Linked DNA regions of Homo sapiens: all the other regions are linked to region 1. Evidence: promoter capture Hi-C in 16 types of primary human blood cells and fetal thymus (Javierre and others, 2016). All regions are on one chromosome and are shown on one strand. The core of a region is centred on a gene start or on the middle of the fragment in contact, and the rest is flanking DNA. Distances in the headings are between cores, read along the strand shown.

The links. Contacts are between HindIII fragments. The CHiCAGO score rates a contact against its expected background, and 5 or more counts as called.
Region 2: a contact is called between a fragment that was not itself captured here and the fragment with the promoter of CD22 in region 1, in 1 of 17 cell types (M1 macrophages). The highest score is 5.3, in M1 macrophages.
Region 3: a contact is called between a fragment that was not itself captured here and the fragment with the promoter of CD22 in region 1, in 4 of 17 cell types (total B cells, non-activated CD4 T cells, total CD4 T cells and 1 more). The highest score is 7.2, in total B cells.

Annotation. Positions count from the first base shown.
Region 1 is chr19:35,327,321-35,330,436 of GRCh38, reverse strand. CD22 (CD22 molecule) reads right to left here and starts at 1,250. Exons shown (of 14, transcript NM_001771.4): 1 at 1,207-1,250. RefSeq lists enhancers at 504-553, 624-673. The HindIII fragment of the contact is 19,927 bases long and covers 1-3,116 here.
Region 2 is chr19:35,591,615-35,594,730 of GRCh38, reverse strand. No RefSeq gene overlaps it. Among named protein-coding and RNA genes, the nearest start is that of LINC01766, 4.7 kb to the left of the region's middle. The HindIII fragment of the contact is 9,877 bases long and covers 1-3,116 here.
Region 3 is chr19:35,069,240-35,072,355 of GRCh38, reverse strand. All of the region lies in intron 3 of HPN-AS1 (HPN antisense RNA 1), which reads left to right. Among named protein-coding and RNA genes, the nearest start is that of HPN, 29 kb to the right of the region's middle. RefSeq lists a silencer at 1,525-1,725 and an enhancer at 3,110-3,116. The HindIII fragment of the contact is 1,655 bases long and covers 845-2,499 here.

The sequences.
Region 1 (3,116 bases), core at 1-2,500:
GGTACTCATCATGTCACATGCAAAAAACATCTTCAAGGTCACATACACTTGAGAAAGGCAGGGTAAAAGAGTTAAGTAAGATTCTTTTTTTTTCTTTTGAGACAGAGTCTCATTCTTCTGTCGCCCAGGCTGAAGTGCAGTGGTGTGATCTCAGTTCACTGCATCCTCTGCCTCCAGGGTTCAAGTGATTCTCCTGCCTCAGCCTCCTGAGTAGCTGGGACTATAGGCATGTGCCACCACACCCGTCTGATTTGTTTGTTTGTTTGTTTGTTTTAGTAGAGATGGGGTTTCACCATGTTGGCCAGGCTGGTTTCAAACTCCTGACCTCAGGTGATCCCCCCAACTTGGCCTCCCAAAGTGCTGAGATGACAGGCGTGAGCCACCGCACCTGGCTTAAGTAAGATTCTTTACTGCAGGACTTTAAAAACCTTTCAGTAAACTCTATCTACACCATTAATCTCTAGACATGGGGATTAGAGTATAGTATAATACATTGTCCATACTTCTTTGGCCATGGGATCTATTTTACATGTTCCATAAAAAACTTAGCAGGGTTGCAGAGCCAGAGTTCTTTGAAATCCCCTTAAGGTTACCTAAGGGGTAACAAGGGCTGTGGCAAGGACTAGACTCCGTTCCCTGCAGCCAACACTTGCCTCCAGGAGCCGGGCCATTGTCCCTCCTCTGCCAGCACCCTCCAGCCACAACCTGCTCTGGGACGGGCTGGAGCATCCCAGCATGAGTGGGAGATGGGCGCCTCCAGAGCAGGACTGTGTGCTGCCTCAAGGAGCTCCAGGAGTCTCTGGAGCACAGGAGTAGGGCCCCAGGCCCGGGAATTGGAAGGCTGAGGGTGGGGTGGAGGTTAGGGACAGCAGTTATTATGCACAGAGGCTCAGGACAGGGCCATGCTGTCCAGACCTCCTCAGTCCAGGCCTGTTGAGGGCCTTGCAGAACCTTGGGGCTGACCTCCCTGGCTCCTTCTTCCCTCCTGGGCATCCAATAACCTACCCTACTCTCAGAAGACTCAGCAGGCCTGGCAAGGAGGATGCTCAAGACAGGGGTCTGTCTACAACCTGTTGTAACACCGGTAAGAGAGAGCCAGGGAGGTCCCCACTGTGTTCCCAGCTCTGGGAGGTATGCCTGGCCCATAACTGCTGTTCCGTAATAACTTGCTTGTTGAATGCAAAATAAAAGCAAAATGATTTTTACCTGTTTCCGCGTGTCTTCCCTCTTCAGGGACCCTGGCAGCATCTGAGAGCAAAAGGAGAAGTACAGTAAAGTCTCTGGTGACAGAGGTTTCCCCTCCATGGCCACACCCCCTGCTTCTCTATGGCTCTGAGGGGGACCAAGCAGCACCGTGATCTGGGGAGTGGGGAAAAGAGACGATTGAGGGGGATGCGGGCTCGGAGTCAGATTGGAAGACTCGAATACGTATGGGCAGTTCTTCCTTTCCGTGTATGGGTTTGCAATATCAGATCAGTTTCAGAATGGGCTCCTCCACAACTCCCCCTCTACCCAGCTCTCAGGAAATGCGAATGACTCAAGCCAAGCAGGAGAACTGCAGCCCGCTGAAAAAGGCACAGGCCTACCTGAAAGTATTTGTAGTTTAGTGACACCATCCAGTTATTACCATTTCCACTCTTTTCATCATAGGCATAAATGGTGGGGAATCTGACCACCTACACTGAAGCCCCCAAGGGTTGAGGGAGGAGCACATAGATATTGAGGAGGAAAAAGATATCTCGGCCGGGTGCGGTGGCTCATGCCTGGAATCCCAACACTTTGGGAGGCTGAGGCGGGTGGATCACTTGAGGTCAGGAATTCGAGACCAGCCTGGCGAACATGGTGAAATTCCGTCTCTACTAAAAATACAAAAAATTAGCTAAGTGTTTTGGCAGGCGCCTGTAGTCCCAGCTACTCAGGGGGCTGAGGCAGGAGAATCACTTGAGCCCAGGAGGCGGAGGCTGCAGTGAGAAGAGATCACACCACTGCAGTCCAGCCTGGGTGACAGAGTGAGACTCTGTCTCAAAAAAAAAAAAAGAAAGAAAGAAAGAAAGAAAGAAAAAGAAAAGATATCTTGTAGGACTGGGCATGGTGGCTCATGCCTGTAATCCTAGCGCTTTGGGTGGCCAAGGCGGGTGGATTGCCTGAGCTCAGGAGTTCAAGACCAGCTTGGGCAACATGGTAAAACCCCATCTCTACTAAAAAAAAAAAAAAAAAAAATCCAAAAATTAGCTGGGTGTGGTGGCGGGCGCCTGTGGTCCCAGCTACTCAGGAGGCTAAGGCAGGAGAATCACTTAAGCCCGAGAGGCTGAGGTTGCAGTGAGCAGATCGCGCTGTGGCACTCCAGCCTGGGTGACAGAGCCAGATCCTGTCTCAAAAAAACAAAAAAGATATCTTGTAGGAAGTGTTATTGAATGGAGAGTCTTTAGGCTGAAACCTCATCACCTTTATAATCCTGTAGCCAGCGAGTGTCTCAGGAGCAGAACAGACAGCATTGGAAGCCATGCACATCCTACAGATGAAGAGGGATGCGCTGAGAGGTCTTCACTCCAGCACCACTGCCCTCTATGGGCAGCTGGCCATAGGGAGGGAAACAGAGAGAGGGAAGAACACCTTCTTCCAAAAGCACCGATAGGGCTGGGTGTGGTGACTTATGCCTGTAATACGCTTTGGGAGAGCAAGGCAAGAGGATTGCTTAAGGCCAGAAGTTTGAGACCAACCTGAACAACACAGCAAAACTCTGTGGGGCTAGTCAACAAAAGCAAAAAATGAAAAGTAGCTGGGCATGGTGGCCCATGCCTGTGGTCCAAACTACTTGGGAGGCTGAGGCAGGAGGATCGCTTGAGCCTGGGAGTTCAAGGCTTCAGTCAGCCATGATAGCACCACTGCACTCCAGCCCAGGCAACAAAGTAAGACCTTGTCTCAGTAAATAATAAATAAATAAAATGAACAAAAAGCAGTGATGTTCTGGAAAGATGGAGTAGATGTATTTATTTATTCTGCCAAGTATAACTGAAAACCTTGAACGTGACAAGACAAGCATAAGAAGACTGAAAGATGGAGAGAAGCAGACTGGTTAGGAACCTCGGGACTTAAGGAATGGTGGTGAATTCCCT
Region 2 (3,116 bases), core at 166-2,665, 260 kb before region 1:
AGGGTTTCACCTTGTTGGCCACGATGGTCTCCTGACCTCGTGATCTGCCTGCCTTGGCCTCCCAAAGTGCTGGGATTACAGGTGTGAGCCAACGCGCCCGGCTCTGGCTATTTTTTTTTTAAGTGCATTATGAAAATATTTTATAACTTGTGTGTTTAGATCATGTGCCTTAAATATGATTATTGGTATGTTTTGCTTTAGGTCTACTATTATTTGTTTTTTATTTCCACTTTTCTGTGTTTTGTTCCTTGTTTTCCCTTTTCCTTCTTTCTTTTGGATTATTCAAATACTATTTTAGTACTCCATTTTAATTTATTTATTGTGATTTTCACTATATATCTTTGCAAGTTTTAAGTGATTGCTCTACGGATTATGGTAAACACACTTAAACATTCTATAGTCTACCTAGATTGAATATTTTGCAACTTCAAGTGGAATATGGAAAACTTCCACCATATTGGTCCCTTCATTGTCTCCCATGTATGCGTTAGCTTTCACATGCATTATAAAGACATGTATTGAAAATACATCCGTCCAGGGCTGTGGCTCACGCCTGTAATCCCAGCACTTTGAGAGGCTGAGGTAGGTGGATCACCTAAGGTCAGGAGTTCAAGACCAGCCTGGCCAACATGGTGAGACCCCGTCTCTACTAAAAATACAAAAATTAGCTGGGCATGGTGGTGGGCGCCTGTAATCCCAGCTACTAGGGAGACTGAGGCAGGAGAATCGCTTGAACCCAGGAGGTGGAAGTTGCAGTGAGCCAAGATCACACCACTGCACTCCAGCCTGGGTGACAGAGTGAGACTCTATCTCCAAAAAAAAAAAAAAAAGAAAAAAAAAAAACGAAAAGAAAAACGCCAGGCACGGTGGCTCATGCCTGTAATCCCAGCACTTTGGGAGGTTGAGGAGGGCAGATCCCGAGGTCAGGAGATCGAGCCCATCCTGGCTAACAAGGTGAAACCCCGTCTCTACTAAAAATACAAAAATTTAGCTGGGCGTGGTGGCGGGTGCCTGTAGTCCCGGCTACTCGGGAGGCTGAGACAGGAGAATGGCGTGAACCCGGGAGGCGGAGCTGGCAGTGAGCCGAGACCACACCACTGCACTCCAGCTTGGGTGACAGAGTGAGACTCCATCTCAAAAAAAAAAAAAAAAAAAAAAACCCTCCCAAAGTGCTGGGATTACAGGCGTGAGCCACCATGCCCAGCAGTCATTCCTTTCAATGGCAAAAACCGCAATTATTTTTGCATCAACTACACACACAGACACACACACACACACATATCTCATGTCACCTGCAGATACAGTTTTATTTCTTCCTTTCCAATCTAAATGCCTTTTTTTCTTTTTTGAGACAGAGTCTCACTCTATTCCTCAGGCTGGAGTGCAGTGTTGGTGTGATCATAGCTCACTGCAGTCTCAAAGTCCTGGGCTCAAGTGATCTCCCTGCCTCAGCCCCCTGAGCAGGTAGGACTACAGGCATGTGCCACCATGCTTGGCTAATTTTTTAATATTTTTTGTAGAGATGGGGTCATGCTGTGTTGCCTAGGCTGGTCTTGACATCCTAGTCTCAAGTGATCCTCCTGCCTCCCAAAGTGTTAGGATTACAGACGTCAGCCACTGCGCCGGGCCCTGTTTGCGTTTTTTTCTTGCAGTGACTAGAACTTCCAGCACTATGTCAAATAGGAGTGTCAAGAGCAGACATCCTTTCCTTGTTGTTGATCTTATAGGGAAAGTATTCCATCCTTCATCATTAAATATGATATATATTTGGTGTGTTTAAATCTATTATTGTTATTACTATTATTATTATTATTATTATTTGAGACGGAGTTTTGCTCTTGTTGCCCAGGCTGGAGTGCAATGGCGCCATCTCGGCTCACTACAACCTCCGACTCCCGAGCTCTAAGCGATTCTCCTGCATCAGCCTCCCGAGTAGCTGGGATTACAGGTGACTGTCACCACGGCTGGCTAATTTTTATATTTTTAGTAGAGACGAGGTTTCACCATGTTGGCCGGGCTGGTCTCGAACTCCTGACCTCAATTGATTTACCTGCCTCAGCCTCCCAAAGTCCTGGGATTACAGGAGTGAGCCACCGCGCCTGGCCGTTATTAATATTTTTGATGTTTAAGTTGTACCACTCTGGGCCAGTGGGCGCTCCTTCAAGTTAGCTTCTATGTCGAAAATAAAAATGATTTGTTAAGAGAAAGGTAAGTGATTAACAAGTGACTCCAGCAGGTAAAAAGATTGAATTGCTACTAACGGTCGATGGGAGGCAGTGTTGTCCACCTAGTGCTTAAGAACACGGCTTTTGGTGGCAGATTTCCTGGTTCCCAATCCTGGCCCCTCAGTGAATTCGCTGTGAGACCTGCACTGTGTCTTTCCAGCTCCCTGTGCTTTATCCTCAGTCTGTAAGAATGCAGGCTATAGGGTTAGTGTGGAGACCAAAAGAATCAATACTCCGAAGCTGCTCATAACAGTGGCTTGTACTTGACTCCGAGAGTTGCTGCTTTCACCATCATAGTGAAGACAAAGTACTCAAAATCTGCTACACGAAAAAGATTACAGGCCCAGAAGATTTTGCAGGCATGTTCACTCCAACTTTTTTTTTTTTTTTTGGAGATGGAGTTTCGCTCTTGTCACCCAGGCTGCAGTGCAATGGCGTGATCTTGGCTTACTGCAACCTCCGCTTCCCGGGTTCAAGTGATTCTCCTGCCTCAGCCTCCCGAGCAGCTGGGATTACAGTTGTGTGCCACCATGCCCAGCTAATTTTTGTATTATTAGTAGAGATGGGGGTTTCACCATATTGGCCAGGCTGGTCTCGAACTCCTGACCTCAGGTGATCCACCCGCCTCAGCCTCCCAAAGTACTAGGATTACAGGCATGAGGCACCATGTCCGGCCCACTCCAATCTTTAAGAAGCAGCTAATTCCCATGACATAGAAATGTTTCCAGAACACAGAAACACATTGAATGCTTCTCAACCCATTCTGCATTGCCAGCACTGCCCCAATGCAAAGGACTGAGAACAGCCCCCAGATGAAAACTATGTAGGACCCAAATAAGGCATAAGCAAACCATATCCATCACATATTAAAAGAATAATAGAGGCCGGGCA
Region 3 (3,116 bases), core at 423-2,922, 260 kb after region 1:
GCCCCAGCGCCAGCCCTGCCCCTCGGAGGTGGACCTTGGACGGGATATGCAGCCCCTCTGTAGGACAGCAAACCCCACAGACCCTCCTTCCCAGCTTGCATGGCGATGAAACAAGTGTTTCCCAAAGGGCGGCACATGGGCTGCTGGCGGGAAACCCCGGGAGAGTATAGGATGGCAGTGAAGAAGGAATTGTTATTATTTCACTAGCATTTGTTTATTTAATACATTTGTTTTGATTTATATTGAAAAACATATATCTGCCACCGCCACATCAAACCCACAGTTTCTTTTTTTTTTTTTTTTTTTTTTTGAGACAGAGTCTCGCTCTGTCGCCCAGGCTGGAGTACAGTGGCGCAAACTCGGCTCACTGCAAGCTCCACCTCCCGGCTTCACGCCATTCTCCTGTCTCAGCCTCCTGAGTAGCTGGGACTACAGGCACCCGCCACCATGCCTGGCTAATTTTTTTGTATTTTTAGTAGAGATGGGGTTTCACCGTGTTAGCCAGGATGGTCTCAATCTCCTGACCTCGTGATCCACCCGCCTCGGCCTCCCAAAGTGCTGGGATTGCAGGTATGAGCCACTGCACCCGGCCTCAAACCCACAGTTTCATAAACATTATTGTTAAAGTCAAGGCTGGCAGGGCACAGTGGCTCATGCCTGTAATCCTAGCACTTTGGGAGGCCAAGGCAGGTGGATCGCTTGAGCCCAGGAGTCTGAGACCAGCCTGGGCAGCATAGCGAGACCCCATCACTATCAAAAATACAAAAATTAGCCAGTCTCATAACCCGGTCTCAAAATAAATAAATCAATAAAAATAATACATAAATAAAGTCAAGGCTAAGCTTAAAAAAAAAAGACACACACACACACACACAAAAGGAAAAGAGATAATTTGAATAAAACAATACAAGTAGTACCAGCGGTATTTGTTTGCCCCTAAGCTCCATAAAGTTGGTTTGTCCTGTCCCCTATATTTCTCCAATTCCTAGAACAGTGTCTGGCACATAATAGGTGCTTAATAAATATTATTTGAATGAATGAATAGCAAAAATTAAGACAGCCACTTTCAAACATCTGAATTTGGGGAAATACTGAAGTAACATGTATAAAACTCTCAGTACAGTACCTGTCACATAGGAAGTGCTCAAAAATATGCATGGATATGTTTATTAATATAAATTATTATTATTATTTAGAAGTGAAACAGGCATTGTGGCCAAATGCTAATTAGTGAAGTATTAAATTAAAGATTTGCCCAAAGCTGACTATCACCTTCTTAGAATGAACTTCTGTAATGTAAGAACAAATGTGAAAGTGTTCTAAAAAGTTATTACTGTCATAATTTTATTATCCACAATTTTAGCAGGGAAATATTTCAGGTTGAACACCTTACTGAGGGATCATTTCTCTGCTTTGTCAGCTGTTAATTTGCTCCGATAGTCCATAAGCTCCTAGGGCAGTTTTAAGATGTGGCCCCAAATTTTTTGACCTGCCTTCCACCACCAAAGGGTGGGGTCTCCATCTCCTCCTCTAGGGTCTGGACAGGTTTGTGATTGCTTCAGCTGACAGAGTGGAGCAGAAATGAGGCTGGGGTGTAAAGGCCAGTGTCTGCTGGAATGCTCACTCTGGAGCCATGAGCCACCACGTGAGAAGTTCAAATGTCCTTGGGTAGCCATATTGGAAGGAAGCCCAAGTTAGCCAGACAATGAGTCCACAGTACCAGCTGAGCTCAGCTTTTGAGTGATCCCAGCCCGGATACTAGACTTGTGAGTAAAGAGCCTCCTTTTGGGATACCGAGGCAGGAGGGTCACTTGAGCCCAGGAGTTCAAGACCAGCCTGGGCAACCAGTCCCATCTCTACAAAAAAAAAATAAAATTAGTTGGGTATGGTGGCACACACCCGTAGTCCCAGTTACTTGGGAAGCTAAGTTGGGAGGATCGATTGAGCCCAGGTGGTAGAAGTTTTAGTGAGCCATGATCACACCACTGCACTCCAGCCTGGGCGACAGAGTGGGACCCTGTTTCAAAACAAACAAACAAAAGAAGCCTCCCTATTCCAGTCCCTGTTCCTTTAGGCTTTCTAGCTAAGGACCTGGTCATCAGGGAGCAGAGACAAGCTGTGCCTGCTGTTCCCTGTCCAACTTTCTGAGCTGCAGAATCCATGAGCATTTACTGTACCCACTAGCTTTGGGTGGTATGTCATGCAGCAAGAGCCAAAACAGCTCCTCGCTTCATAACTGCAGGATTGAAACAGTGTTACTTTTTATGCAGAAACTAAAGTCCATCTCCCTACTTATGCTGCTATCTGAATGTTCACAATAATTATTTCTGAATATAAAATGAATAGCCTTCACCATCATTGCTAATCATGGCTGTGATTTTATGTATGAAATAACTGTTGTGGCAGAGTAGCTGTACATTTCTCCTTCAACCCAGCTGGGAGAATGCCAACTTATAACCACATATGGAGCTATCTGTTCCAACTAACATCCAGAAAGCTTTTCTATATTTGAAAAGGACTATGTAGATATAAATGCTAAATAGGAATGCAAAACTTGGCTTGGGTTCCTGATGTAGTTGCACTAATTCTGTAAGATGGGTCAAATATTTCTGATTCTGAGCGGCACCACAATGACATGGAAGTAATTTTCATATTCAGCTTTTCTGAAGACTGAGACCCTGGCAGGAACTGAAAGCAACCTTGTGACTGTTATTATTCTTTTTAAATATCTTCCTAGCTCTTTGGGGTGAGTGGCAAGGTTGCTGGGAGCAGGAGGAGAAACTGAGGCTCACTGACCCCTGGCATACAAGGGAAACCAGTGAATGGCTGTTGAGTGAATCACAATCTCCCCAGCCCCTCCACTCCTCCAACAAAGCAACAGTGCAGACAGAACTCAGAATGGCTGTCAGAGGCGTTTGAACCAGAGCAACTCCATCTTAAATAGGACCTGGGTAAAGTAAGGCGGAGACCTGCTGGCCCGCATTCCCGGTAAATTAAGGCATTCTAAGTCAGAGGATGAGAGAGGAGGTCGGCACAAGATACAGGTCATAAAGACCTTTCTGATAAAACAGACTGCAGTAAAGAAGTCGGGAAAACCCACCAAAACCAAGATGGCC